6 separate regions of the Homo sapiens genome follow, and all the other regions are linked to region 2. The links are contacts of gene promoters, found by promoter capture Hi-C in human tissues and cell types (Jung and others, 2019). All regions are on one chromosome and are shown on one strand. Each heading gives the region's core, a stretch centred on a gene start or on the middle of the fragment in contact. The rest is flanking DNA. Distances are from core to core; before and after follow the strand shown.

What was found. The method cuts DNA at HindIII sites, captures the fragments that hold promoters and counts their contacts. A contact is called where the count stands out against the background at its distance.
Region 1: a contact is called between the fragment with the promoter of TPSD1 here and the fragment with the promoter of RHOT2 in region 2, in 5 of the 25 tissues and cell types used here (H1 embryonic stem cells, dorsolateral prefrontal cortex, liver and 2 more).
Region 3: the fragment with the promoter of NPRL3 here is called in contact with the fragment with the promoter of RHOT2 in region 2 in 1 of the 25 tissues and cell types used here (lymphoblastoid cells).
Region 4: a contact is called between the fragment with the promoter of BAIAP3 here and the fragment with the promoter of RHOT2 in region 2, in 2 of the 25 tissues and cell types used here (dorsolateral prefrontal cortex and lymphoblastoid cells).
Region 5: a contact is called between the fragment with the promoter of UNKL here and the fragment with the promoter of RHOT2 in region 2, in 1 of the 25 tissues and cell types used here (dorsolateral prefrontal cortex).
Region 6: the fragment with the promoter of IFT140 here is called in contact with the fragment with the promoter of RHOT2 in region 2 in 1 of the 25 tissues and cell types used here (dorsolateral prefrontal cortex).

The regions. Positions count from the first base shown.
Region 1 is chr16:1,254,777-1,257,796 of GRCh38, forward strand. It overlaps TPSD1 (tryptase delta 1), which reads left to right and starts at 1,293. Exons shown (of 5, transcript NM_012217.3): 1 at 1,293-1,586; 2 at 1,740-1,911; 3 at 2,021-2,286. The coding sequence starts at 1,505. The HindIII fragment of the contact is 12,300 bases long and covers 1-3,020 here.
Region 2 is chr16:666,882-669,409 of GRCh38, forward strand. RHOT2 (ras homolog family member T2) reads left to right here and starts at 1,251. Exons shown (of 19, transcript NM_138769.3): 1 at 1,251-1,355; 2 at 1,472-1,530; 3 at 1,607-1,688; 4 at 1,775-1,818. The coding sequence starts at 1,319. WDR90 (WD repeat domain 90) reads left to right here. Exons shown (of 41, transcript NM_145294.5): 40 at 24-108; 41 at 551-949. The coding sequence ends at 708. RefSeq lists an enhancer at 962-1,643 and silencers at 1,029-1,368, 1,429-1,528, 1,629-1,718. The HindIII fragment of the contact is 52,780 bases long and covers 1-2,528 here.
Region 3 is chr16:137,254-139,975 of GRCh38, forward strand. It overlaps NPRL3 (NPR3 like, GATOR1 complex subunit), which reads right to left and starts at 1,420. Exons shown (of 14, transcript NM_001077350.3): 1 at 1,389-1,420; 2 at 897-1,081. The coding sequence starts at 1,014. RefSeq lists a silencer at 850-1,079 and an enhancer at 1,300-1,349. The HindIII fragment of the contact is 17,392 bases long and covers 1-2,722 here.
Region 4 is chr16:1,332,234-1,335,155 of GRCh38, forward strand. It overlaps BAIAP3 (BAI1 associated protein 3), which reads left to right and starts at 1,412. Exons shown (of 34, transcript NM_001199097.2): 1 at 1,412-1,516. RefSeq lists silencers at 366-566, 1,302-1,461. The HindIII fragment of the contact is 17,320 bases long and covers 1-2,771 here.
Region 5 is chr16:1,413,182-1,416,031 of GRCh38, forward strand. UNKL (unk like zinc finger) reads right to left here and starts at 1,523. Exons shown (of 15, transcript NM_001372107.1): 1 at 1,434-1,523; 2 at 665-874. The coding sequence starts at 1,510. RefSeq lists enhancers at 424-998, 999-1,573, 1,574-2,148, 2,149-2,722 and silencers at 518-667, 1,098-1,147, 1,688-1,807, 1,858-1,927. The HindIII fragment of the contact is 21,408 bases long and covers 1-2,850 here.
Region 6 is chr16:1,610,508-1,613,393 of GRCh38, forward strand. IFT140 (intraflagellar transport 140) reads right to left here and starts at 1,565. Exons shown (of 31, transcript NM_014714.4): 1 at 1,461-1,565; 2 at 157-346. It overlaps CRAMP1 (cramped chromatin regulator 1), which reads left to right and starts at 1,853. Exons shown (of 21, transcript NM_020825.4): 1 at 1,853-2,150. RefSeq lists silencers at 1-271, 1,510-2,039, 2,060-2,179, 2,210-2,369 and enhancers at 1,300-1,359, 1,748-2,248, 2,249-2,749. The HindIII fragment of the contact is 16,182 bases long and covers 1-2,886 here.

The sequences.
Region 1 (3,020 bases), core at 43-2,542, 590 kb after region 2:
GGCCCAGGTGAGTCAGGAGGTGGGGTGGACGGAGCTGCAGGGACAGTGTCAGCGCTGAATGGGATGGAGAGCACAGGGAGCTGGGGCCGGGGGTGAGACCAAGGGGAGCTGGGCTGGGGCTGGGGGTGAGTCCATGGGGAGCTGGGGCCGGGGGCTGGGACTAGTCCATGGGGAGCTGGGCTGGGGCTGGGGGTGAGACCATGGGGAGCTGGGCTGGGGCTGGGACTAGTCCATGGGGAGCTGGGCTGGGGCTGGGACTAGTTCATGGGGAGCTGGGCTGGGGCTGGGGGTGAGTCCATGGGGAGCTGGGCTGGGGCTGGGGGTGAGTCCATGGGGAGCTGGACTGGGGCTGTGGGTGAGTCCATGGGGAGCTGGGGCTGGGGCTGGGACTACTCCATGGGGAGCTGGGGCTGGGGCTGGGACTAGTCCATGGGGAGCTGGGCTGGGGCTGTGGGTGAGTCCATGGGGAGCTGGGCTGGGGCTGGGGGTGAGTCCATGGGGAGCTGGGCTGGGTCTCCTGGGGTTGCACCTGCACTCCTGTCTGCCCTTCCCTCTGCGGATGAAGCTCAGATCCCATGATAAGAAGGCACCTGCAGACCAGGGGACCTGCACGGACAGCCCCAGAGGTGGACATTGAGGAATCGTTGGAGGACTTGGGTCTCATACGGGAGGTGGGGAGCAGGGCCCCTTCCTGGCTGAGGACACTTGGTGCTGTCCCCTCTCAAGGCTGTTTCCCCATCTGACAAAGGGGTCTCATGTGAGCCCCCAACCAAGTGAGTCGAGGAGGGCTGGCCCCACCCCCGTGGATTCGGAGTCCGTAGGAGGGGTGTCACCCGTCATGTCCCCACCCCGTGGGCACCTTCCCGTCTCTTGGAGGGTGGCCCATGGACATGAGTTCCTCACCCCGTGTCCCTCTTGGGGAAACAGGTTTCAGGAGCGACGGGTCTTGTAGCCTGGGGCAGCCAGGCCACCTGGGTGCAGCTATGCCTGAAGGCCTCCTGGCACCGAGACAGGGGCAGGAGCAGATCCCACCAGCGGGAAGGTGGTGGGTTCCAGTGCTGGGATCCACCAGCTGACAGGTGGAGCTGCGAGCCTCCAGTGCTCAGCCCTCGGCGGGGCCTGCCTGGCAGCCCCACACACAGAGGGCATCGGGGTGGCGGGGGCATGTGTTACACGGGGGCCCTGGGTCTGAGTCATCCACTTCCTCCGAGTCTGGATGGGAGGACCCAGCGCCCCTCCTCCGCCCCCTCCTGATCTGGAAGCATAAATGGGGAGGGGAGAGCCCGCTGGGTAGAAGGAACAGGGAGTGGCCAGGGTAAGTCCCTACTCTCAGAGACCCTGACATCAGCGTCACCTGGAGCAGAGTGGCCCAGCCTCAGACTCAGAGCACCAAGACCCAGGCCCGCAGGCCTGGACCCACCCCGGTCCCCCCGTCCCAGCTCCATTCTTCACCCCACAATCTGTAGCCCCCAGCCCTGCCCTGTGAGGCCCGGCCAGGCCCACGATGCTCCTCCTTGCTCCCCAGATGCTGAGCCTGCTGCTGCTGGCGCTGCCCGTCCTGGCGAGCCCGGCCTACGTGGCCCCTGGTGAGTCCCAGCCGGGGTCCACCCTGCCCCTCACCACATTCCACAGATCAGGGCCTGGGTGGGTTCTGGGGAGGCCGGGCTGGCCCCCACACAGGGAAGGGCTGGTCCCAGGCGTGGGGCGGCTTCTTGGTCCTGACCTGGCACCTGCCCCAGCCCCAGGCCAGGCCCTGCAGCAAACGGGCATTGTTGGGGGGCAGGAGGCCCCCAGGAGCAAGTGGCCCTGGCAGGTGAGCCTGAGAGTCCGCGGCCCATACTGGATGCACTTCTGCGGGGGCTCCCTCATCCACCCCCAGTGGGTGCTAACCGCGGCGCACTGCGTGGAACCGTGAGTCTCCTGGGGCCTGGAGGGGTGGGCAAGGGCTGGATGTGAGCCCTGGCTCCCGGGTGCTCCTGGGGGCTGCCCAGGGCCCTGAGTGGGATCCTCCGCTGCCCAGGGACATCAAGGATCTGGCCGCCCTCAGGGTGCAACTGCGGGAGCAGCACCTCTACTACCAGGACCAGCTGCTGCCGGTCAGCAGGATCATCGTGCACCCACAGTTCTACATCATCCAGACCGGGGCGGACATCGCCCTGCTGGAGCTGGAGGAGCCCGTGAACATCTCCAGCCACATCCACACGGTCACGCTGCCCCCTGCCTCGGAGACCTTCCCCCCGGGGATGCCGTGCTGGGTCACTGGCTGGGGCGACGTGGACAATAATGGTGGGTGTTGGGGACAGCGGGAGGCCGGGCCAGGTGGGCACCAAGTCACAGCCACAGGCCAGTCCGTGGGGTGACAGGGTCCCTCAGGGCGGCTCAGGGAGGGGGACTGTGGAGGCCAGGATGGATGGAGCAGGCGGTGGCGAGAGGCAGCAGGTGCCCTGAGCAGAGACGGTGAGTCCAAAGGGCCTGGGCGTCCCCCACCCCAGGGGTTTGGAGAGTCCCTTAGCACCTCCGTGCCTCGGTTTCCCCTTGCCTGAAAGGGTGCATCAAAAGTTTGTACGTCACGGACTTGCTATGTGGAGAGAGAAATCACACGGGGGTCTTGCTGGAAGGAGAGAGACCGGTGCTGGGATGAGACCTGCCTGCCCTCCATCCCTGTGCTACAGACAAGGCAGGGGCCTGGGAATCGGGGTCGTGGCAGTGCTGTGGGGGGCTGGACGAAGCTCACTGTGGCCCTCCACGAGGCACATTTTCACTTCTAGAAGGTCTTGTCCCCATTTTATCCACAATTCAGAGCAAAGCTTTGGGGTACAGCCTGAGCGGCAACCCTGGGCTGTGACCTCTGGGTCACTCAGAAGGGGCCTGAGCCACTGTCCCGCTATTCCGCCCCACACAGCGGGGAAGCTGAGCCCAGCGCCCTGTGTTCCCCTCGGCTAGGGCCAACCGTGGACCATGGGCCTAGCCCAGACGAAAGTCAGCTGAGCCCAGGGGGAGACACGGGTCGGGCTCTGCAC
Region 2 (2,528 bases), core at 1-2,500:
AGCCTCACGCTGGCTGCTCACAGGTGGTGGAGAAGATACCACTGCCCTTTTTTGCCATGTCCCTGAGCCTGTCCCCCGGGACCCACCTCCTGGCTGTTGGCTTTGCTGGTGAGTGCTGGTGGATGCAGTTTGGGCCTGTCTTAGGTGGGGGCCAAGTGGGCTGACTGGTGCCCTGTTCCAAGACAGGTGCCTCACCTGTGCCCCGGGCTCCTCGTCTCTGGGGTGGGGTGAGGACATCTGCCCTAGAGAGGGTCCTGGAGTCAGGAGATGATGAGGCAGGTGAGGAACCAGGCACAGCGCCCAGCACAGGGCCTGAATGCACGGGTGGCAGCGACTTTTAAGGAGGGAACTGGCCCAGCTGCAGGCCGACAGCCTGGCAGTGATGGACCCCCTAGTCCCAGTGGCACGTGGAGGGCACAGCCAGGAGCCCTTTTAGCACCAGCTCCCCCGACCAGCATCATGCCCAGTGGGGACAGTCTGGGTGGGTTGGGGGAGCCCTCTGAGTGCTGCCTGGTCCTGGCCCTGGCCCACCTGCACCGTCTACCCACAGAGTGCATGCTGAGGCTGGTAGACTGTGCCATGGGGACTGCCCAAGACTTTGCCGGCCACGACAACGCAGTGCACCTGTGCAGGTTTACACCGTCCGCCAGGCTGCTCTTCACGGCCGCCCGCAACGAGATCCTTGTGTGGGAGGTCCCCGGCCTCTGAGATGCAGCAGGGACTGTGGTGGTGGGCATCACGCCTGGTCATGCCAGGCACCTGGACACAGGCTTGGCAGAGGCGCCAGGTTGTCAATGGCCTCATGCTGGGACAGGCCAGGATTCACGTAAATCGCCTGGAGCAAGCTGTTGTAAATTTGGCGCCCTGTGAATACTTTCATACCTGTTGCCCTTTTGCCTAAGAAATCTTTAATGTTTCTATCTTGTAATAAACATGGGCATTTATTGCATTATTGCTGCATTGTTGCACTGGCTGTCTCTGGTCACTCCTGGCCTGAGCTCAGCCTCTGCCCGTCCCTTAATCGGCTGTTTGTCAAGGCCCCTGTGGTGCCGTGAAGCAATGGCCGCTCGGCCTGCCAGGGCGCCAGGACCCTGCGCTGTCCGCCGTGGCCGGCGCGTCCACACGGTGGCGCGCCGCACAGCCTGTCCGCTCTGGCCCGCCCGGCTCGCTGGTGCGGCTGTGCGGGCGGGGCCGGAAGTGTGGGGACAGCGCGGGGCCGAGAACCGGAAGTGCGGGGCGGGCGCGGGGGCAGAGCGAAAGGCTTGAGGACCAGGTCGGGGCCGGGTTCCGGGTCGGGGAGCGGCTCCGGGCGGCAGCTATGAGGCGGGACGTGCGCATCCTGTTACTGGGCGAGGGTAGGCGCCGGCCCGGGGGTCTCGGAGCTGCGGCGGCCGTGAGGCGGGGTGAGGGTCTCGGGGGTCGGGGGGCGCCGTGACCTTGGCCCTCGCGCTGACCGCCTCGCCCCGCGCAGCCCAGGTGGGGAAGACGTCGCTGATCCTGTCCCTGGTGGGCGAGGAGTTCCCCGAGGAGGTAAGGGGCACGCCCGCCGCGGGGGTGGGAGCGGGCCCAGCCGGGGGTCCCTGGTGAGCGCGCGGGTCCCTTGCAGGTCCCTCCCCGCGCGGAGGAGATCACCATCCCCGCGGACGTCACCCCGGAGAAGGTGCCCACCCACATCGTGGACTACTCAGGTAGCGGCCGTAGCCTCCCGGGGGCCCGGCCCGCAGCGGTCCGGCGGGCCTGCTGGGTCCGCAGTGGAGTCTCTTTGTCCCCCTAGAAGCCGAGCAGACGGACGAGGAGCTGCGGGAGGAGATCCACAAGGTACCCGTGGTGCGCGGGACGAGGGAGGGGCTGGGCGCGGGCTCGGCCTAATCCGCTTCGCAGCCTGGGGGATTGGACCGAGGTGCTCCGGGTGTCCTTGGCCCTGATAATTCTGTGACCTCCGCACTGAGGGTTGTCGGGGCCCCTACAGCGCACCCCGCTGGGAGCCGGCACCGCTCAGTCCAGTGGTGCTCCAGGGATAACAGGACCCTTCCCCGCGGGCTCTCCCTCCCTCCTGCCGGGGTGGCAGCAGCGTTTGCTCTTCCTGTGGGCTCTGTGTGCGCCACGTCCCCGTGCTGTGTGCTCCAGCCCACCGTCCCGGCCTCCGGGCACCCGGAGCTCCCAGTACCAGAGCACGTGTGCCGGGGACATCTCCAGGCAAGGGCACAGGCCACAGCCACCCAGGGCAGCCCCTGCTGTTGGCACCCCTCACTGCGGTCCTGTCACTCTGTCTGTAGCGAGGGGGGAGGCAGGGGCCAAGGCGGCGGCTGTCTTGCAGGGTGTTGGGTTGCAGGTGTGGCCGTGTCTGTCCTGAGCCCTCTGCTCCAAGGGTCTTGCTGACCACAGTTATGCTTCTGGGGCCTGGTGTCCCTGCACTGGCAGTGGGCGGGGAAGAGGCTTCTCTGAGGGTTCAGCAGCAGCTCCCAGTGTGACACTGGGGAGTGCCTGCTCTGCCAACACCAGGCTGGAGGCAGGTTTTAGGGAAGGCT
Region 3 (2,722 bases), core at 170-2,669, 530 kb before region 2:
TTCATGATGATGAAAAATCAAAAGTAACCTACATGCCGTCCACAGGGGAAGGCAGCAGCCTGCAGCCAAGGGTGAGGTTGATCCCTGCTTGCAAAGGCAGACGGAGCTCCAAGGCCGACTATGGGAAAAGGGCGCCACAGAACAATTCGTGCGATGAAAAACCTCACGCGACGTTCCCTTTTCCTGTGGATAGATCTGCATCTATGCACAGGGCAGACAACTCCCAACACGGCCAGGGGTGATCCCTGTGCTTGCTAGAACTGGGGGTGGCAAAGACAACTTCAGATGTTCACGTAACTTTTTTTTTTTTTTTTGAGACGGAGTCTTGCTCTGTTGCCCAGGCTGGAATCCAGTGGCGCGATCTCGGTTCACTGAAACCTCCGCCTCCCGGGTTCAAGCAATTCTCCTGCCTCAGCCTCCCAAGTAGCTAGGATTATGGGCACGCACCACCACGCTCGGCTAATTTGTTTTTTTTTATTTTTATTTTTTCAGTAGAGACAGAGTTTCAACCATGTTGGCCAGGCTGGTCTCGAACTCCTGACCTCAGGTGATCCACCCGCCTCGGCCTCCCAAAGTGCTGGGATTACCGCCACCGGCCTTGTTCGTGTAATTTTGTATTTTCTCATGATGAATACATCCCAAACTCATTTTATTTTATTTTACTTTATTTTTTAAAGGCTGGAGACTGATGAAATGTCAGCAGTAGTTGCTTTGGTGTGGTGAACAATGCATGATTTTAATTTTTTTTTTCCTTTTTCTACTTTTCAAATACTCTACAACGAGCAGATCTCGAATGCCCAGCAAAAGCTAAGCTCCGCGAGGCGGCCCTGGAATGAGGCGACCCCGGAATGAGGCGGCCCCCGCGAGCGCCAGGCCCCCGCCCAGCGCTCACTTACTTGTCTGGGACGCCGGGTGCTCCTGGCTTCTCTGGAAGGGGTACCTGAACAGCAGCTTATTGCCCCTGCTCCCCGAGCTCACCAGAATCACGCTGATGGGGCTGGTGTTGTCCCGCATCCCGCCGTGGGGCCGGGGCCGGGGGCGGAGGGGGCCAGAGGAGGACGGAGCCGGAGGCGGAGGGGGCCTGAGGAGGACGGAGCCGGAGGCGGAGGGGGCCTGAGGAGGACGAGGCGGGGACGCAGGGGGCCTGAGGAGGGCAGGGGTGGAGGCGGAGGGGGCCTGAGGAGGGCAGGGGTGGAGGCGGAGGGGGCCTGAGGAGGGCAGGGGTGGAGGCGGAGGGGGCCTGAGGAGGGCAGGGGTGGAGGCGGAGGGGGCCTGAGTAGGGCAGGGGTGGAGGCGGAGGGGGCCTGAGGAGGGCAGGGGTGGAGGCGGAGGGGGCCTGAGGAGGACAGGGGTGGTGGTGGACGCGGAGCAGCGCCACAGTTACCAACCCACGTGCCACGCTCCGGGCTCGCGAGACTTCGGCGACACCGTCCGGAGGAGGTGCTAAGGCGGCGGCCGGGAGAACGGCGCAGGCGCAGGCGCAGGCGCAGGCAGCGGAATGCGCAGGCGCGGGGCCTTCTGGAAGCCACCGAGTTCCGCGGTGCTGTCTGGAGCCGTACGGTTCGCGTTTGGGGCACAGGGGCCCCTCTTGCTGGTGCGGATGGGAAAGGCGCGGGGTCGAGTCAGCGTCCCTCTCGATGTTGGTTTCTTCGTTTTACAAATAACACTTGGGCGGGGCGCGGTGGCTCACGCCTGTAATCCCAGCATTTTGGGAGGCCGAGGCGGGCGGATCACGAGGTCAGGAGATCGAGACCATCCTAGCTAACATAGTGAAACCCCATCTCTACTAAAAATTAGAAGAAATTATCCGGGCGTGGTGGCAGGCGCCCGTAATCCTAGAGGAGAATCGCTTGAACCCGGGAGGCGGAGGTTGCATTGAGCCAAGATCACGCCATTGCACTCCACCCTGGGCGACAGAGCGACGAGACCCCGTATCAAAAAAAAAAAAAAGAAAGAAAGAAAGAAAAAAGAAAAAAAAAAGGCCGGGCGCGGTGGCTCACGCCTGTAATCCCAGCACTTTGGGAGGCCGAGGCGGGTGAATCACGAGGTCAGGAGTTCGAGACCATCCTGGCCAACATGGTGAAACCCCGTCTCTACAAAAAAAAAAAAAAAAATTAGCCGGGCGTGGTGGCGGGCGCCTGTAATCCCAGCTACTCGGGAGGCTGAGACAGGAAAATCGCTTGAACCCGGGAGGCGGAGCTTGCGGTGAGCCGAGATTGCGCCACTGCACTACAGCCTAGGCGACAGAGCGAGACTCCGTCTCAAAAAAAAAAAAAAAAAAAAAAAACACTTGGAAGCCGACAGGAGATCTTTGAGACCTTGGGCGAGGCAGTGACACTAAAGGCAGGAGCGACTACAGAAGAATAAATTAAACTTCATCAGATTAAAAACTTTACTGCGGCCGGGCGCGGTGGCTCACGCCTGAAATCCCAGCACTTTGGGAGGCCGAGGTGGGCAGATCATGAGATCAGGAGATCTAGACCATCCTGGCCAACATGGTAAAACCCCGTCTCTCTACTAAAAATACAAAAATTAGCTGGGTTTGGCGGCGCCTGCTTCTAATCCCAGCTACTCGGGAGGCTGAGGCAGGAGAATCGCTTGAAGCCGGGAGGCGGAGGTTGCAGTGAGCCGAGATCGTGCCACTGAACTCTGGCCTGGCGACAGAGCGAGACTCCATCTCAAAACAAAACAAAAACTTCGGTGCTTTAAAGGACACCATCAA
Region 4 (2,922 bases), core at 162-2,661, 670 kb after region 2:
CCTGCCCCCGATCCTGCACAGACAGGTGTGGGGCGGGCATGGATTTGAGTGAGTTGGGATCCAGAAGCCAAGACAGTTGTTGGCAGACGGGCCCCCTCCCTTTGAAGAGCTGTGTTCTGGAAGCCTGTCTGGCCTTGGGCTGCCCAGGTGCCCTTCGGGTGAAAACTCCAAAGTCTGACCACCCCCCACCCCTTGTCCCCAAAGGGCTGCGAGTGTCCAGCTGTATTCGACCAAGGGCAGGTGCGACCGGGGGGCCGCTGCGCCCTCGGCAAGTCTGAGAGCCTCAGGCCCCCGACAGGACCATGCTTAGCACGGACTTCTCAAAGTGTGGTCCCTGGACTGGCGGCAGCAGACTGGAGCTGGGAAGTGCAGGCGCTGGCTGGCGTGGGGACCACACCTGTGATCTCAGCGCCTTAGGAGGCCGGGGAAGGGGGATCCCTTGAGCCTGGGAGTTTGAGACCAGCCTGGGCAACATAGGGAGACCCCCATCTCCACAAAAGAAACCAAAAAACATTAGCCGGCGGGTGGTCCCAGCTACTGGGGAGGCTGAAGCGGGAGGACCACTTGAGCCGGAGAGTTCGAGGTTGCAGCGAGTGGAGATGGTGCCACTGCGCTCCAACCTGGTTGAGAGCTATTTTTGAGAGCTTTTTCGAGACTCTGTCTGAAAAAAAAAGGGAAAAAACGCAGATCGCGCCCCCACCCAGACTTCGGGACCAGCGGGTTGGGGACAGGACCCATCAATGCCTTAACAAACCCTGCAGGAGACCGCGGGCCCGCTGGGGTTCCAGGACAGCGCAGCGGAGGAAGAGCGGGGAGCCACCCGGGAGGGGCTGGCGGGGTCCAGTGCAGACCCCAGGGGCTCCGGGGGCTCTGGCCGGCTGTGACCCCACAAGCGCCAACTGGGCCCTCACCAGAGCCCCAGGGACGATCGCCCCACAGACCGTCCGCGTGGGCGTGGGGCGTCCCGAGTGGATCCCTGCAGGACGCATCCCCGCCCCGAGAAGAGAGCGGCGGGGCCCGCGAGGTGTCCCTGAGTCAGGCCCTTCCAGAAAGGTCTGCACCGCTGCTGGTCTTCGTGACCGTGGCTTCCCTGGGGTCCGCGGAGGAGACCCCGCCGACCACCCCCTTCTAGACCCCACGCGCCACGGGGAGGGCGCGCGCGGCCAGGCGGGGTCCCGAGGCAGCCAAGCCCGCTCCCCGTCCCGCAGCCACCTGTGGGTTGACTCACAGCCCCGCATCCCGGGGGAGGGGGCTCCGGCCCGGCTCAAGGCACGGAGACCCCGGCCGGGTCCCCTAAGGCGCCGTGGACGCGGGGGGCGGGGCGAGCGCGGTCAGGCCCCGCCCCGGTCAGGCCCGGCCCCGCCCCCAGTCAGACCCCGCCCCCGCAGCGGCGTCCGCCCAGCAGTTGCTCAGTCGTCGGCGCGCGCGGCTGGGAGCGGTAGCTGTGCCTCGGCGTCCCCGAGCTGGTGCCGAGCGCAGCGCCCCAGGAGCCCCCCCATCCCCGCGCCGGCCCACGGTAAGTGCCGCGGGCTGCGGCCAGTGCTGTTGGGCCGCCGTCTGGGCTCGGCCCCGCGCCCCAACCCGGACGGACCGACGGCCGCCGCCCCCTTGGTCCGGGTCCCCCAGGAGGCACGGGGGTGGCCTCCGAGGCGGGGGGCGGTGGGAAGGTCTCGACGTCCCCTCGGCCCTGGGGAAACTGAGGCCGCGCATGCTTGGAGGGGCGGGGTCTCGGGGGCATTTCCCCTCCGAACGCGCAGGAGAGGGTGCGGCGGTGGGGTCCGCACTGCGGAGCGGACGGGGAGGGTATCCGGGCGCTGGCGACGGCCTCCCCCGCACTTGAGCCGCCAAGCGAGGCTTCGACCCCCGCGCCTCCCTCCCCGGGGGAGCAGACGGGCCCGGGGCCTCCCAGCACCCCTCCCGGGCGGGCTGCACCCCCCAGCGTCCTCGTCCCTTCCCTCCTCCCGCAGGTCCTCGTAAGGCCCTTTAGTCCCCCCGAAATCCCTGCGAGTGCAAAGCGGCCCCTCCTTCAGCCCCACTCGGCAAAGGGCTGTGGGCTCTTGCCTGGGCCGGGGTCTCCGGGGGAGGAGTTTAAAGTGACACACTAGACCCGCCCCCAGACTCACCCCGGACCGCCCGCCCCCTCCGAGGGGAGAGACCCCCATAGAACTGGGGGTGTGGCTCCTGCGGGCGCCCGGGGCCCCGGGAAAGGGGGTGCCGCGAGGCGGGGCAGGGAGGGGGTCGGTGAGCAGAGGGAGGAGGGAGCGCTGCGCAGACACGGGCGAGGGGAGGAAGAAGGCGCCTCGGGCTCCGGTCTCCTGCGCTCCTGCTGGGCGCCAGCGGCTGGACCTTGGCAGCCGTCTGAGGCTTCGGGGAGCCCAAGGCCACCGGCAGCGCTTGTTAGAATGCAGATTCCCGGGGTTCGACTGGAATGAGACCCCGGGGAGCAGCGTTTGCAGCGGGCCCGCCAGGTGACCTGCACCTGGGCACCGCCATCGGCTTCGCAGGGGCCATCTGGAGGAGTCGGTGAGACCAGGGAGAGATTCCTGCGGGAAACCCCCAGGGCCTGGTGAAGGGGAGTCGGGGGGCTGAGGGAGGAAGAGCAGGGAAGCTGGAGAGAAGACCAAGAGGGCAGCGTGGAGAGCCAGCCTGTGGGGCAGATGTCCTGCCACCTCCCGCCCCAGGCACACACCCAGGGCACCATCAGCTAACCCCCTGCCCCAAATGTGGTAAGAAGGGCGCCCCCAACACGTTGAAGGCGTTTGTTCCTAGACAGCCTGCACTGGGGAGGAAGGCTGACCCAGCCTCTGCTCCGCTGCCCCCAGACTCAGCTGCCTCACTGCCCCCAACCCTGAGCCCCCAAATGGCCTGGCAGGAGACAGCTTGGCTTAAGAGTCCCAGGTTCACATCTGGGCTCTGGGCAAG
Region 5 (2,850 bases), core at 273-2,772, 750 kb after region 2:
CTGCAGTGAGCCGTATCCTATCATTGCACTCCAGCCCCAGCGACAGAGCAAGACCCTGTCTCAAAAAAAAAAAAAAAAAAAAAAAAAAAAAAAAAAAAAAAGTGGGGCCGGGTACGGTGGCTCATGCCTGTCATCCCAGCACTTTGGGAGGCCGAGGTGGGTGGATCACCTGAGGTTGGGAGTTCGAGACAAGCCTAACCAACATGGAGAAACCCTGTCTCTACTAAAAATAAAAAATTAGCTGGGCATGGTGGCACATGCCTGTAATCCCAGCTACTCCGGAGGCTGAGGCAGGAGAATCACTTGAACCTGGGAGGTAGAGGCTGCAGTGAGCCGAGATCATGCCATTGCACTCCAGCCAGAGCAACAAGAGTGAAACTCCGTCTCAAAAAACAAACAAAAAAAAGTGGGAGGTGAAGCAAAATTGGTTTGAGTCACACAAGGGTTACCCCTAAAACACACATAATCCCTCGGGAACTGGCCTGAGAATAGGAAATGCCGCCCCAGCATCCCTGGTCACTAGAAAATTTCAGCGTATAATTACGACTCCCTCTGCAGGGGCCAGGTATGGACACTAAGGCGTCCGCTGAGGGTCCCGGCCGCATCCCCGGGTGGAGGCCCCCCACCTCCGCCCAGGCAGCGGCGCCCCCTCGCGGCCGCTTACTCGTCGCCGTCGGGGCACACGCCGGTGGCTTCGTTGTACTTGGAGCAGTACACGTCGGGGCTGTAGTTGAAGGTGCCGTCGCGCCTGCGGAGGGGCCTGCGGCGCCGCTGGTTGAGGAAGTGCCAGTGGAAGCAGGTGAACGGCCGGTGCTGCGCGCACTTGTGCTGTGAAAACAGGGGGCACTGCTCCGTCCTGAACTCCTTCAGGTACCTACAAACACAGACAGCGCCGCGGCTCGCTTCCGGCAGCACCTCCAGGGACTCGGACTCGTGGGCGGCGGGACCCACCGGCCTCAGGAGCCTCAACCCAGGGTCGACCCGTACTCACATTCCCGGCGGGCCCCAGGCGCTGCGCCCACCCCCATCCCGACTCCAGACGCGACCCTCACCCGACCTCGTAGCCCAGGCGCTGACCCTGGTCCCCAAGCCCAAGCGCCACCCCGGACCCTGGGCGACCCGCTGTGACCTCACGGTCGGCAGCCGGAGCAGAGGGTCCCGGTCCCCGAGCCCAGGCGCAACCCCCAACCCCGGGGCGTTCCTCCCTCCCCAGAGGCGCGTGGACCCCGGAACCAGGTGCCATCCCAGACCATGGGCGCCGCGCTCCGACCTCAGGCGGAGGCCGCCGAGAGCAGAGGGTCGTGGCCCCCCCAGCCCAGGCGCTGCGCGGAGGCCGGGGGGCGCGGGGGCGGCGGAGGCGGCGCGAGCCCCGGCGGGAGGCTCCGAGCTGCACCGGGCGCGGGCGGGGGGCCGCAGGCCGGACGGGCGCTGACCTGTAGTGGGTCGGCTTCTCAGTCTGCGGGGGGGACCCGCTCAGCGCCGCTGCCGCCGCTTTCGAAACCGACGGCATTTTCAGTCAAAACAATGCAGCGCGCATGCGCCGCGCCGGCGCCCCCGCCCCCGGATATCCCCGCGCGCCCCCGCGGCCACGCCCCCCGCGGCCCCGCCCCCAGCCCGCAGACCCCGGCCCCGCCCCAGCCCCGCGCCCCCCGCAGCCCCGCCCCCGGCCCGCAGACCCCGCCCCAGCCCCGCGCCCCGCCCTGCCCTGCCCTGCCCTGCCCTGCCCTGCCCTGCCCTGCCCTGCCCTGCAGCCCCCGGCCCGGGACGCTGGTCCTGCCCGGGGCCGCGCGTGGGACCCGCGATGGTCGCCCCTGCTGTGACATGACCCGACATAACCGTGTATTTTACATGAATTAATCACAAGAGTTGTATCTCAATAGAGCTGCTCTTCCACAAACGAACCAAGAGGCTGATGTCAGGGGGAGCCAGGCACCGGGCGGAAGGGCCAAGGGGTCCTGGCCTTTGTAGAAAGGAATTTGTTCCATTTCGAACCTTGACCTCAAAAACTTATACTCAGAGATTTATCTACAAAGGTAATTATCACAGTTATTTTGCAAACACTTGAGGTCCCCCTTCCCCCAACAGCGCAGTAGCTGAGAAAAGGGAAAACTCTAAGTGCTCTGCGTGATTTGAAACAGTGCTTCCGAAGAATTTTTAGTGGTAGGAGGCCGGGCGCGGTGTCTCACGCCTGTAATCCCAGCACTTTGGGAGGCCGAGGCCGGCGGATCAGCTGAGTTCGGGAGTTTGACAACAGCTTGGCCAACAGTGAAACCCCGTCTCTACTAAACATACAAAAATATTAGTGGGGTGTGGTGGCTTGCGCCTGTAATTCCTGCTACTCCGGAGGCTGAGGCAGGAGAATGGCGTGAACCCGGGAGGCGGAGGTTTAGTAGTGAGCCGAGATTGCGCCACTGCACTCCAGCCTGGGTGACAGAGTAACACCCTGTCTCAAAAAATAAAAAAGAAATTTTTAGTGATATGAAAAATGTGCCCATTGGCCGGGCGCGGTGGCTCACGCCTATAATCCCTGCACTTTGAGAGGCCGAGGTGGGCGGATCACGAGGTCAGAAGATCGAGACCATCCTGGCTAACACGGTGAAACCCCGTCTCTACTAAAAATACAAAAAAAAAAAAAAAAATTACCCGGGCGTGGTGGTGGGCACCTGTAGTCCCAGCTACTCAGGAGGCTAAGGCAGGAGAATCACTTGAACCCAGGAGGCGGAGCTTGCAGTGAGCCGAGATCGCGCCACTGCACTCCAGCCTGGGCAACAGAGCGAGACTCCGTCTCAAAAAAAAAAAAAAAAAAAAAAAAAAAAAACGAAAAGAAAAATGGGCCCATTTAGGTTGAAA
Region 6 (2,886 bases), core at 315-2,814, 940 kb after region 2:
TGGGACTCGCGAGGGGCCGCGGGGACTCGGCGGCGCCGGGATCGTGGGAGGAGACGGGAGGGTCCCGACGCCCGCCACCGGTCACATCCTCGGCCCCAAACCCCGGCCTGGCTCCTAAGGACCTGGGTCGGCCGCCCTAGCCCTAAGGCCACTCACCTCTGCCAGGCCGCTGAGCCGCCGCGCGTTGCCGGGACAACGGCGCGCCAGGAACGCGGAAATAGCCGAAGGTGAGCGAGGCGGCCCCGAGGACTCCCGAAGCGCCCCGAGCGGCCGGAAAGAGCCGAAGGCGATCGGGCACGCACGTGCAGCTCCGAGGCCCGAGCGTCGGGGGCCAGGTTATTCCGCTCTGCAAGAGAGAAGCGGGACGAGCTTTTTCTAGGAGAGACGGCGGCGCAGGGCCGGCGTCTGGGTCCCCTTTGTGTGGAGGGCGCGCTGTCACAGCCCCGATCAACCGCGGCATCCTCCCCTCCTGGGCGTGTTCCCTTCCCGTGCATCCCGAGGCGGAGCCTTTCCAGCACGCGGCGGTCTCGGCCCAGGCCTTCCCTGGGCTCCGCTTTTCTAGTTTCGGAGCGGAGGGCGTGGGTCAAGCGTTTCTGGGAAAGTCGATGCGCTCGGCAGTGTCCTGAGGTGTTGGGTGACTGAGGGCCTGTTCCATCGCCGGGCCCCGGACTCCACAGAGCCAAGCGAGGCAGGGAGCGCCCCCAAGAAAGCAGCTGGCGGCCGGACGCGGGGCTCGCGCTTGGGCTTCCAGCTCTTGGGGGCTGGGGCGGGCGGATCGTTGGAGCCCAGGAGTTCGAGACCAGCCTTGGCAACAAGGCGAGATCCTGTCTCTAAAAAATTACAAAAATTAGCCGGGCGCGGTGGCGCCTCTAGTCTCGGCTACAGGAGGCTGAGGGAGGAGAATCGCCTGAGCCCCGGGAGGCGGAGACTGCAGCGAGCCGAGATCGGGCCACTGCACTCCAGCCTGGGCGACAGAGCGAGTCAAAAAAAAAAAAAAAGAAAAGAAAAAGAAACACTGGAATTTGAGCCGGGCGCGGTGGCTCACGCCTGCAAACCCAGTACTTTGGGAGGCTGAGACGAGCGGATCACTTGAGGTCAGGAGTTCGAGACTAGCTTGGCCAACATGGTGAAACCCCGTATGTACTAAAAACACACAAATTAGCGAGTATGGTGGCGCGCGCCTGTAATTCCAACTACTCGGGAGGCTGAGGCAGGAGAATCGCTTGAACCTGGGAGGCGGAGCTTGCAGTGAGCCAAGATTGCGCCACTGCACTCCAGCCTGGGCGACAGAGCGAAACTCCGTCTCAAAAAAAAAAAAAAAGAAAGAAAGAAACACTGGAATTTGAAAAACACCCCTCTGCTTTCTTGCTATGAAGAAAATGACCAAGTGCCCAGCGCCGCTCGGCTACGCTAACGTAGCGCAGAAGCACATACTCCACCCAGGAAAGGGTGCGCTTAACTGCCTCAGACGTGCTTCCACACTTCTCAGAACTCAGGTTCGCGCCCGATTCCACACTCCGAGCTACCACGCCGTTTTCTTCTCACGTATCCGTCAACACTGCTGCGGCCAATCACAGCACGGGCCCTGGCCTATTGGCTGTCTGTCCACCAATCCAAAGAGACGCACAGTCCGCAAGGTCGCGAGGCTGGCGTCACAACACTACTGGCGCCGCGGGCTCGCCCCCGACGCCCACCGGGCTCGTACGTGCGAGCGCGCCCGCCCAGCGCTAGCCAATGGGAGCGCCGTTTTGGGGAGACGGGCCCGAAGAAACATTGGGGGTGCTCGCCCCCGCGTTCGTCGCCCCGCCCCGCGCGCCCGCGCACCCCGGCCCCGCCCCCGCGCGCCGTCCGTGAGGTCCCCACCGGCCGCCGTAGCCGGAACTGCTGCTGAGGGCGGCGGGCCGGCTTCGCTAGGGTGAGTGGCGGCAGTATCTGCGTCCGCAGCCCCCGCAGCCGCGCGCCGGCCCGCGGAGGGGACGTGCCGGGGCTAGCGCCGCTCGACCAGTCGCTTCCGAGGCGGACGACCAGCCCGGCGTTGCGGCCTCCCTGCAGCCGGCGCTCGGGGGCCGGGGCTGCCCGGCCCGGCTGGTTCTGCGGGCACCCGGGGAGGCCCCGGGAAGCCAGGCTGCCGCCCGGCGTTGATGAAAAAGGTGACCAAGGCTGGGCGGCGGGGCTGTCATGGCGAGGCCCGGCCGGGGGGTCCTGTCGGGCGGCGCGGGAGAGCGCGGGGGGGGCGTCGCTTCCACAGCGCCCGGTACAGCCACAACTGGCCTCAGGGCGAGGAGGCTTCTGCGTCCCCATCCCGAGACGCGAGCCGGTGCGGAGCGGGACGGGGCTGGAGGAGACTGCGCCTCCGAGAAAAGTCCGGTCTCGTTGGAGGTTCTCGCGAAAAGGAGGCCATCCCCCTGCTTGTTGGCCCTTAGGGTAAAGTCTGGACGGCGTCGGTCCTTTCAGTGGCGAAAAGCGCTTCCCCGTGCTCGGTCGGCGTCTTGGGTGTGGAGCCCGGCGAGCGGGCGAGTTCACTCTGGTGGCCGAGTTTGTTTTGCTTGGGTCCCGGGTGGCCTGCGGGCGGACAGGTCCCTGGGCAGCGGGGTTCTCAGCCCGAGACGAGGTCTTTGGGGGTTTAGGTTTCTTGAGTGGAAAGAGGTGGGTTGAGGGGGAAGAGTGGGAAGTCTTGCCACGAAATCCCTTAAGTTGGGGTGTTTGTCGTGGGTGGTTTTGTTCTTTGGCAGAGTTTTTTTTAAAACTAGCATGAACTCGAGATTCCCTAGACCAATTCCGACAGGAGAAAACGGCCACGGATCCTTGTGTGATCTGCACCTCAGGGTGGGGGCATCATTGCGACTTTGAAGCCATTTCCCGATCTCTCGGAAAGAGAGGTCCTCG